Linked DNA regions of Homo sapiens: region 2 is linked to region 1. The links are contacts of gene promoters, found by promoter capture Hi-C in human tissues and cell types (Jung and others, 2019). All regions are on one chromosome and are shown on one strand. The core of a region is centred on a gene start or on the middle of the fragment in contact, and the rest is flanking DNA. Distances in the headings are between cores, read along the strand shown.

Evidence for each region. Contacts are between HindIII fragments. The study calls those that stand out against the background at their distance.
Region 2: a contact is called between the fragment with the promoter of TAF12 here and the fragment with the promoter of SMPDL3B in region 1, in 1 of the 25 tissues and cell types used here (heart right ventricle).

What each region holds. Positions count from the first base shown.
Region 1 is chr1:27,933,036-27,937,358 of GRCh38, reverse strand. It overlaps SMPDL3B (sphingomyelin phosphodiesterase acid like 3B), which reads right to left and starts at 2,359. Exons shown (of 8, transcript NM_014474.4): 1 at 2,115-2,359. The coding sequence starts at 2,175. RefSeq lists a silencer at 2,232-2,497 and an enhancer at 1,824-2,725. The HindIII fragment of the contact is 15,081 bases long and covers 1-4,323 here.
Region 2 is chr1:28,641,543-28,645,826 of GRCh38, reverse strand. TAF12 (TATA-box binding protein associated factor 12) reads left to right here and starts at 2,760. Exons shown (of 6, transcript NM_005644.4): 1 at 2,760-2,835. TAF12-DT (TAF12 divergent transcript) reads right to left here and starts at 2,571. Exons shown (of 2, transcript NR_146730.1): 1 at 2,064-2,571. RefSeq lists an enhancer at 209-708 and a silencer at 916-1,210. The HindIII fragment of the contact is 16,599 bases long and covers 1-4,284 here.

The DNA of each region.
Region 1 (4,323 bases), core at 1,110-3,609:
CCCTGGGCTGGCCTTCCAGGGAGTGTTTTCCTACCAAGCTAACCCACAGGGGAAGAACCTGTCTGCTTCTCTGCAGTTAGAAGCTGAGGAAGGAGCGAAATGTTACACAGGACATGTGTAGGAGGAGAAGGAGCCAGCAAGTTGGCATCCACCCAAGCTCCTGGCTAAGGAAAGTGGAGGCAGAAATCCCACAGTTTAATGCAAAGCAGGGATGATGCTGTCTGATCCCCTGTCTCAGAATCCACCTGTGCTTCAGGAAGACACCTGGAGTTGGAAAAACCTTACAGGTGCTGCGGAATTCCTTTTTTTGTTGTTGTTTGTTTGTTTGTTTGTTTTTTGAGACGGAGCCTCACTCTGTCGCCCAGGCTGGAGTGCAGTGGTGCAATCTCGGCTCACTGCAAGCTCCACCTCCCGGGTTTACCCCATTCTCCTGCTTCAGCCTCCCAAGTAGCTGGGACGACAGGTGCTCATCACCACGCCTGGCTAATTTTTTGTACTTTTAGTAGAGTATTTTTAGTTTCACCGTATTAGCCAGGATTGTCTCAATCTCCTGACCTCGTGATCCGCCCGCCTCGGCCTCCCAAAGTGCTGGGATTACAGGCGTGAGCCACCGCATCCGGCCCGGAATTCCTTTTAAATTTACTTTAAAAGGAATACATTCCAGCAAGTTTGGAGAAAAGAGAAAAAAATAGTACCTCTAAACCCCACCATCCCAAGAGGACATGAAGCATAGTACAGCCAGGCACAGGCTTTGTCCTGCCATTTCCCAGCTGGGAGATCTTCAGCAAGTGCAATGTCCCCTCTGAGACTCATTTGCCTCATCTGCAAAATGGGTATAATGATATTAGCACCTACTTCAGAGGGGCTATAAAGAGAATTTTTTTCTTTCATTTTCTTTTTTTTTTTTGAGATGGTCTCATTCCCGTCACCCAGGCTGGGGTGCAGTGGCACAATCACAGCTCACTGCAGCCTCAACCTCCCAGGCTCAGGTAATTCTCCCAGCTGAGTCTCCCAAGTAGCTGGCACTACAGGCACCCACTACCACACCCAGCTAATTTTTGGTATTTTTAGTAGAGTCAGGGTTTTGCTATGTTGCCCAGGCTGGTCTCAAACTCCTGGACTCAAGCAATCCACCCTCCTCAGCCTCCCAAAGTGCTGGGATTACAGATGTTAGCCACTGCGTCTGGCCTCAAGGGTCCTTTTAAACATACAGAAGTCAGAATAGATTACACCTGTGCCTAGAACCCTCCAATGACATCCCATTTCACCCTGAGCAAAAGCCTGCGTCCTTCCTATCTACAGGCACGTGGAAAGAAAAATGTCTGAGTCCTCAAGAGAGTCTTCGAGGCTATCCATGATTTGGCACCTGCCCCACCCCACCATCTGCCAACCTCACCCCCACTTGTCCTGCCCACCCTGCTTCAGCCACGCGGGCTTCCTTGCTGTTCCTCATGCACATCTCCTGTGTGTCCACCTCAGACCCCGTGCACTGTCCTCTCTTCCTGTAATGTTCTGGACACCCATGTGGCTCCCCCACTCACTGCCTCAAGGCTCCACTTGAGTGTCACCTGATTTGACAGCTCTTCTCTGGACGTCTTGTAAGTACCCCCTCCCCACAACCCGCCTTCCCTGTTCTACTTTATTTTCCCCATAACACTTATCATCTCCTCCAATGCTGCGTACTTTACTTGTTCGTGTGGTTTGTTTTTTTCTCCCCAGATGAAGGAATTCTTCATTGAGACGGGGACTTTCTTTTCTTCTCTGATATATCCCTGGCTCCTAGAATAACGTATGGTACAGGAAAGGACCTCATTTGTTGAATGAGTCCACGAATCTTTCCTGCCACCTCCTACCTCTACTAATTAGCTAGCTCTCACGTACCCAGACCTCTTCGCAATGTCGGTGTCCCTCCCTGGCCAGCTGGCGCCTCCACTTAAAATCTTCAGCCTCAAACAGCACTTGCTAAGGCCCACTAGCTCTCCCCACCTGCCTCCCTGCCTAGCTCCTGCCTTGCTATCTTTAGAAGCACCTTCAAGCTGGCTGCGAGCAGCTTCCCGCAGCCCCAGAGTTCACAGTACAAAACAAAGGCATAGCAGACATTCCCAGTGCTGTACCTGGTTCAGCCCTGGCACCTCCCCAGTTAGCCAGGAAAATCAGCCAGGCGAGCAGCCTCATCCTCGGGGCTCACTTCCCCAGAGCCGTGGGATTCTCAGGCACTGTTGTTGTTCTCACCACAGGCTTCCTAAGTAGTTTTCTGTGGCCACGTGCCTGAGCAGAACTCCTTGTCCTGTTACAGGTGTTCCAAGTCCTCCAAGGCGTCTGGATCCTCTGGCTCTTCCTCCTTTGCCCAGCAGGGTATGATCTGGGCTGGCCCGAGGAGGCAGGCATACCGGACCCTTAAGTGGAAGCCACACCTCTCCTGCCAGTGCAGCCCCTGCCCCCAAGAGGGAGGGGCAAACAACAGAATTGCCGGTCAGCACATCAGGTGTATTGGCAAGCCCCGGAAAGGGGGATCTAATTCAGACTGAGGAATGTGAGAGGGCTTCTAGGAGGGGGTGACACGTTTAATCCTTTCTTAACATTGTATTATGGAAACAGTCAAACAGAAACAGGAGAGAGAATGGTGTAATGAACCCCCAAGTACCTTCCTCCAGCTTCAGTAATTATGAACTTATGGCCACTCTTATTTCATCTATACTCACTTTTGATTATTTTATGTATTTAAACAACTTTTTTTTTTTTTTGAGACGGAGTCTCATTCTGTCACCCAGGCTGTAGTGCAGTGGCACCATCTCAGCTCACTGCAAGCTCTGCCTCCCGGATTCACACCATTCTCCTGCCTCAGCCTCCCGAGTAGCTGGGACTACAGGCGCCCGCCACCACGCCCGGCTATTTTTTTGTATTTTTAGTAGAGACGGGGTTTCACTGTGTTAGCCAGGATGGTCTCGATCTCCTGACCTTGTGATCCACCCGTCTCGGCCTCCCAAAGTGCTGGGATTACAGGCATGAGCCACCGCGCCCGGCCCTATTTAAACAACTTTTAAAATTTTTTATTATTTTAACTTTTATTTATTTATGTATTTTTTTAGAGAAGTGTCTCAGGCTGGGTGCAGTGGCTCATGTCTGTAATCCCAGCACTTTGGTAGGCTAAGGCAGGAGGATCGCTTGAGCCCAGGAGTTTGAGGCCATCCTGAGCAACATAGTGAAACACCATCTCTACAAAAAATAAAAAAATTAGCTGGGCATGGTAATACATGTCTATAGTCCAGCTACTTGGGAGGCTGAGGCAGGAGGATCCCTTGAGCCTGGGAGGTAGAAGTTGCAGTAAGCCAAGATTGCATCATTGCATTCCAGCCTGGGTGATAGAGCAAGACTCTGTCTCAAAAAAAAAAAAAAAAAAAAAAAAGAAGGGGGTTGTCTCACTCTGCCACCCAGGCTAGAGTGCAGTGGCAAGATAATAATAGCTCACTGCAGCCTCGAGCTCCTGGACTCAAGCTATCTTCCTATCTTCCTGCTTCAACCTCTGGAATAGCTGGAACTATAGGCACTCGCTACCTCACCTGGCTTTTTTTTTTTTTTTTTTTAGAAACAGCATCTCACTACATTACTCAGGCTGGTCCCAAACTCCTGGCTTCAAGTGATCCTCCCACCTCAGCCTCCCAAAGCACTGGGCTGACAGGTGTGAGCTATCATACCTGGCCCTCACTGTATGATGTTAAATTCCAGTGATCATATCATCTTGAACGTAAACAGTATTTATCTCTAAAAGGTAAGGATTCTCTTTTTCTTTCTTTCTTTTTTTTTTTTTTTTTGAGATGGAGTTTCACTCTTGTTGCCCAGGCTGGAGTGCAATGGCAGGATCTCGGCTCACCGCAAAATCGGCCTCCCGGGTTCAAGTGATTATCCTGTCTCTGCCTCCCGAGTAGCTGGTATTACAGGCATGCGCCACCACACCTGGCTAATTTTGTATTTTTAGTAGAGATGGGGTTTCTCCATATTGGTCAGGCTGGTCTCAAACTCCCAACCTCAGGTGATCTGCCCAACTTGGCCTCCCAAAGTGCTGGGATTACAGGCGTGAGCCACTGCACCCGGCTAGGACTCTCTTTTTCTAACACATTATCAGATCTAAAAAAAAAAATAGTAATTCCACCAGGCGTGGTGGCTCACACCTGTAATCCCAGCTACTTGGGAGGCTGAGGCAGGAGAATCACTTGAACCCGGGAGGCGGAGCTTGCAGTGAGCCGAGATAGTGCCACTGCACTCTAGCCTGGGCGACAGAGCGAGACTCCACCTCAAAAAAAAAAAGAAAGAAAAAGAAAAACA
Region 2 (4,284 bases), core at 1,511-4,010, 710 kb before region 1:
CCCGGCTAATTTTTAAAATATTTTTAGTAGGTTTCACCCTGTTGGCCAGGCTGGTCTCAAACTCCTAACCTCAAGTGATCCACCTGCCTCGGCCTCCCAAAATGCTGGGATTACAGGCGTGAGCCACAGTGCCTGGCCTGGCCTTATCTGTTTTTTTGTTGTTGTTGTAGTTTTGTTTGAGATGGAGTCTTGCTCCCGTCACGCAGGCTGGAGTGCACTGGCTCAATCTCCGCTCACTGCAACCTCCACCTCCCGGGTTCCAGCGATTCTCCTTCCGCAGCCTCCTGAGTAGCTGGGGTCACAGGCGTGCACCACCACGCCCAGCTAATTTTTGTATTTTTAGTAGAGATAGGGTTTCACTATTTTGGCCAGGATGATCTCTATCTCCTGACCTCGTGATCCTCCTGCCTCAGCCTCCCAAAGTGCTGGGATTACAGGCGTGAGCCAGGGTGTCCAGTCCTTATCTCTTAAAGAAAAAAAAAAAAAAGAAGAGGCCGGGCGCAGTGGCTCCTGCCTGTAATCCCAGCATTTTGGGAGGCCAAGGCAGGCGGATCACGAGGTCAGGAGATCGAGACCATCCTGGCTAACATGGTGAAACCCCATCTCTACTAAAAATACAAAAAATTAGCCGGGCGCGGTGGCGGGCGCCTGTAGTCCCAGCTACTTGGGAGGCTGAGGCAGGAGAATGGCATGAACCTGGGAGGCGGAACTTGCAGTGAGCCGAGATAGCTCCACTGCAGTCCGGCCTGGGTGAAACAGCGAGACTCCGTCTCAAAAAAAAAAAAAAGAAAATTCATCTACTTGGGAAGCTGAGGTGGAGGAGGATCGCTTGAACACAGGAGTTTGAGGCTGTAGTGAACTATGATTGTGCCACTGCACTCTAGCCCTGGTGACAGAGTGAGACCCTGTATCATTTAACAATCGCCATAATTTCACCGTTCTTCCAACACCTTCCCATTGCATACTGAATATAATCTCAAGTCCCCATCATAGTCTAGGCTAAAAGGTCCAGACTATAACAAACCCCTGCCTACCTCTCCAAACTCATTGTCTTTCCCGGTTACCAAAGCTCCAGCCACCTTGGCCATCTTGGTCCTTGAGTAAGTGTTTTCCTTACTGAAGACCATGGCTCAGGCCATCAGCCAGCTAGATAAGTCTGGCTTATTCCAGTATTCTCTTCTATCACCCTTTTGTGCAGTTGCTAATGGTCTGTTTCCCACTCTAGGTTGCAAACTTTCTAAGGACAGAGATCATCCGTCTTAGCCACCAGTTATGTACTCAGCACATAGCAAAAGGCTTGTCACACAATGAGACTCAAACACTTGTCAAATGAACGTATATACATTCAACCTGGGTCTTAAAAAAGATGTATAGGCATTCAACAACAAAAAGTGGTATGCCGGACCCTAAAAAGAATGGAGAGCAGTGGCAAGGAAATAAGGCTAGGAATACAGCTTAGAGCCCAATGTTCATGAGGACTTGAATCTGAGAATTTGGATTGGGTGGCAGTGTAGAGGGTGGACTGGGAACGTGGTAGGATGAGGATTAGGAAGATATAAAGACAGGGCAGGATGCCGCACCAATCTGGGCACCTCTTCCTAATTTCTATGTGGCTCACTCTGGCCTGTCACAGCTCTTTATACAATTTTTGGTGTGTTTGTGGGTTCTTCTCCATCTTACTGTGAACCTTACAGATGCTGGAATTGGGTCTTACTTGCATGCCTAACATTCCAGCATACAGTAAAAAATAACAGCTGTTCTCTTTTTTTTTTTTTTGAGACAGAGTCTCGCTCTGTCGCCCAGGCTGGAGTGCAGTGGCGCGATCTCGGCTCACTGCAACCTCCGCCCCTCCAGGTTTAAGCAGTTCTCTGCGTCAGCCTCCGGAGTAGCTGCGATTACAGGCGCATGCCACCACGCCCGGCTAATTTTTTGTATTTTTAGTAGAGACGGGGTTTCACCATCTTGGCCAGACTGGTCTTGAACTCTTGACCTCGTGATCCACCCTCCTCGGCCTCCCAAAGTGCTGGGATTACAGGCGTGAGCCACATAACAGCAGTTCTCACCAAGCATCTGACAGCCGAAAAACTGAAAGCATTAGAGAATGCTACAGGACAGGCTTTGGCTTAGTAGTGAGTTCTGAGTTCAAGCTGAGGCTCTGCACTTATTAGCTAGAACTTTGCTTAATCTCTCACAGGTCTCCTCTAAATGATTAAATGGCGTAACGGAGGTAAGCGGATTAGCACAATTCCCGGCAAACAGTAAGCACTCAATTGTTACTACTGAATTGCCAGTTCACAGGCACAACCAACCGATCTCTCTCATCTCCTGGTTCCTCTGTTGCCAACTTCCTCGTTGAGGTCCAACAGGATACCTGTGGGGTAATGTGTCCCAGATGATATCCCAGTCCTGACACCAAGACAAAGGCACCAACCAAAAATGGCGACCTCAAAGCCATCCGAGGGCGTCAATTACCCGTCATGCTACCGATAGATAAATAAGCAGCGTCGGGAAGAAAAGCTAGTGAAGGATTCTTAACGCCGGGTTGGAATACGCAGAGCTCGCTCATGCTGCCACTCAACCACAAGCAGTTAAAAGCGCAAGCTGCAGGGTGTACCTACACACAGCTCAATATCGCCACCACGTGTCGGAGGGCAGTCTGCGCCTGCGCAAGCGAGGCGCGCGCCCGCCGGCCGGAAGAGCCGCGCGTTTCCGGGTTGGAGGCGGGGAGCGGTGCCGGAAGTAGTCGGGGAGGGCCGCGCAGTCGGACCGGCTGCTGAGACGAACGCTTCACTGGGGCAGTCTCTGCATATCATGGGGAGATAGACGCTGCTGCCTGTGAGTCTTGGGCCCTGGCAGTTGAGGAACAAGAGCGGGAGGAGGGAGTCAGGACCCAGACCTACAGTGGGTCAGTGTTCGAAGGACCAGGTTGTGGACGAGACGGGGCTGTGAGGATTCAGGCTCTTGGGAAGGGACTGACTGAGAGGATCAGGCTCGGAGAAGACGCGGCTGTGGGGACCCGGGCTCTAAGACGGGACTTAGGGAACGGGGACGGATGCGAGTTCTCCGGCATCTGAGGGAAAGTGGTCTGAGAGGAGCAGGATTATGAGGACCCGCACTCCTACGAGGAAAGGGTCAGAAAGGAACGGGGCGTGAAGACACAGGCTCCGGAGAGGTAAAAGTGGAGCGGTGAGGACTTGGGCTCCTAAGAGGCAGAAGCGGGACAGTGAAGACCCGGGCTCCTAAGGATTCAGAAACGGGGCAGCGAAGACTTAGGTTCCTGAGGGGCAGAAGCAGACAGAGAAAACTTGAGTTTGGAAGGGAACAGAAGCGGGCAGTGAAGACTGGGGCTTCTTTGGGGACGGGATCCGGGCTTTGAGACTCCGAGTTCCTGAGTCTCGGAACAGGGCTGTGAGTACCCAAGCTCCTAAAAGCCTTGGATCTAAGGGACCATGGATATGAGATCAGCCTACAAAGTAAAGGGAAAGGGTTTGGAAAAGATTTAGTGATCCATTTTTTCACAGTATTCCCTGAACCCAGAGAGATAAAGGACGTATTCAGGGGAAGACAACTTCTCCTTCGCACTGCCTACTTGGCTCTTGGCAAGCTTTTCTTGTGTCAGATACTCAATCTAGGAAGCCCATATGCAAACATCTTCATTTTCTGCTTCATTCTTGGGAATCAGATGTGAAGTTGAAAACAGTTGGAACTCAGTTATGTACTTGATAAGTGCTTTAAATCCCATTCCACTCAACCCTGAATGAGCACAGATCTCTGCATCTCAAATAAAAGAATGTCAGTGATGGAAGAGTCCCAAAAGATCATCTTTTAAAAACTCCTATTTTACATTTAAGAAGGCTAAGGTTCAAAGAGGCTTAGGATTACAGTGAGGCAATGGTTAGTTAGATCATAATTTTAATACAGTACCCTTCTGTGCGTAGCAAATGAGATGCTTGGTTAATGTTCCTTAAATGCTTCTAGAATCTTTGCTTTATCTTCAAACTCAGGAGGGAATTTTTTTTTTTTTTTTTTTTTTGAGACAGGTTCTCTCTCTGTCGCCCAGTCTGAAGTGCAGCGGCTCAGTCTTGGCCCCGTGCACCTCCAACCTCCTAGGCTCAAGCAGTCTTCCCACCTATACCTCCTGAGTAGCTGGAACTACGGGCGTGTGCCACCACGCCCTGCTAATTTTTAAATTTTTTGTAGAAACAGGGTCTCACTATATTGCCCAGGCTGGTCTCAAACTCCTAAGCTCAAGTGATCCTCCCACCTTGGCCTCCCAAAGTGCTG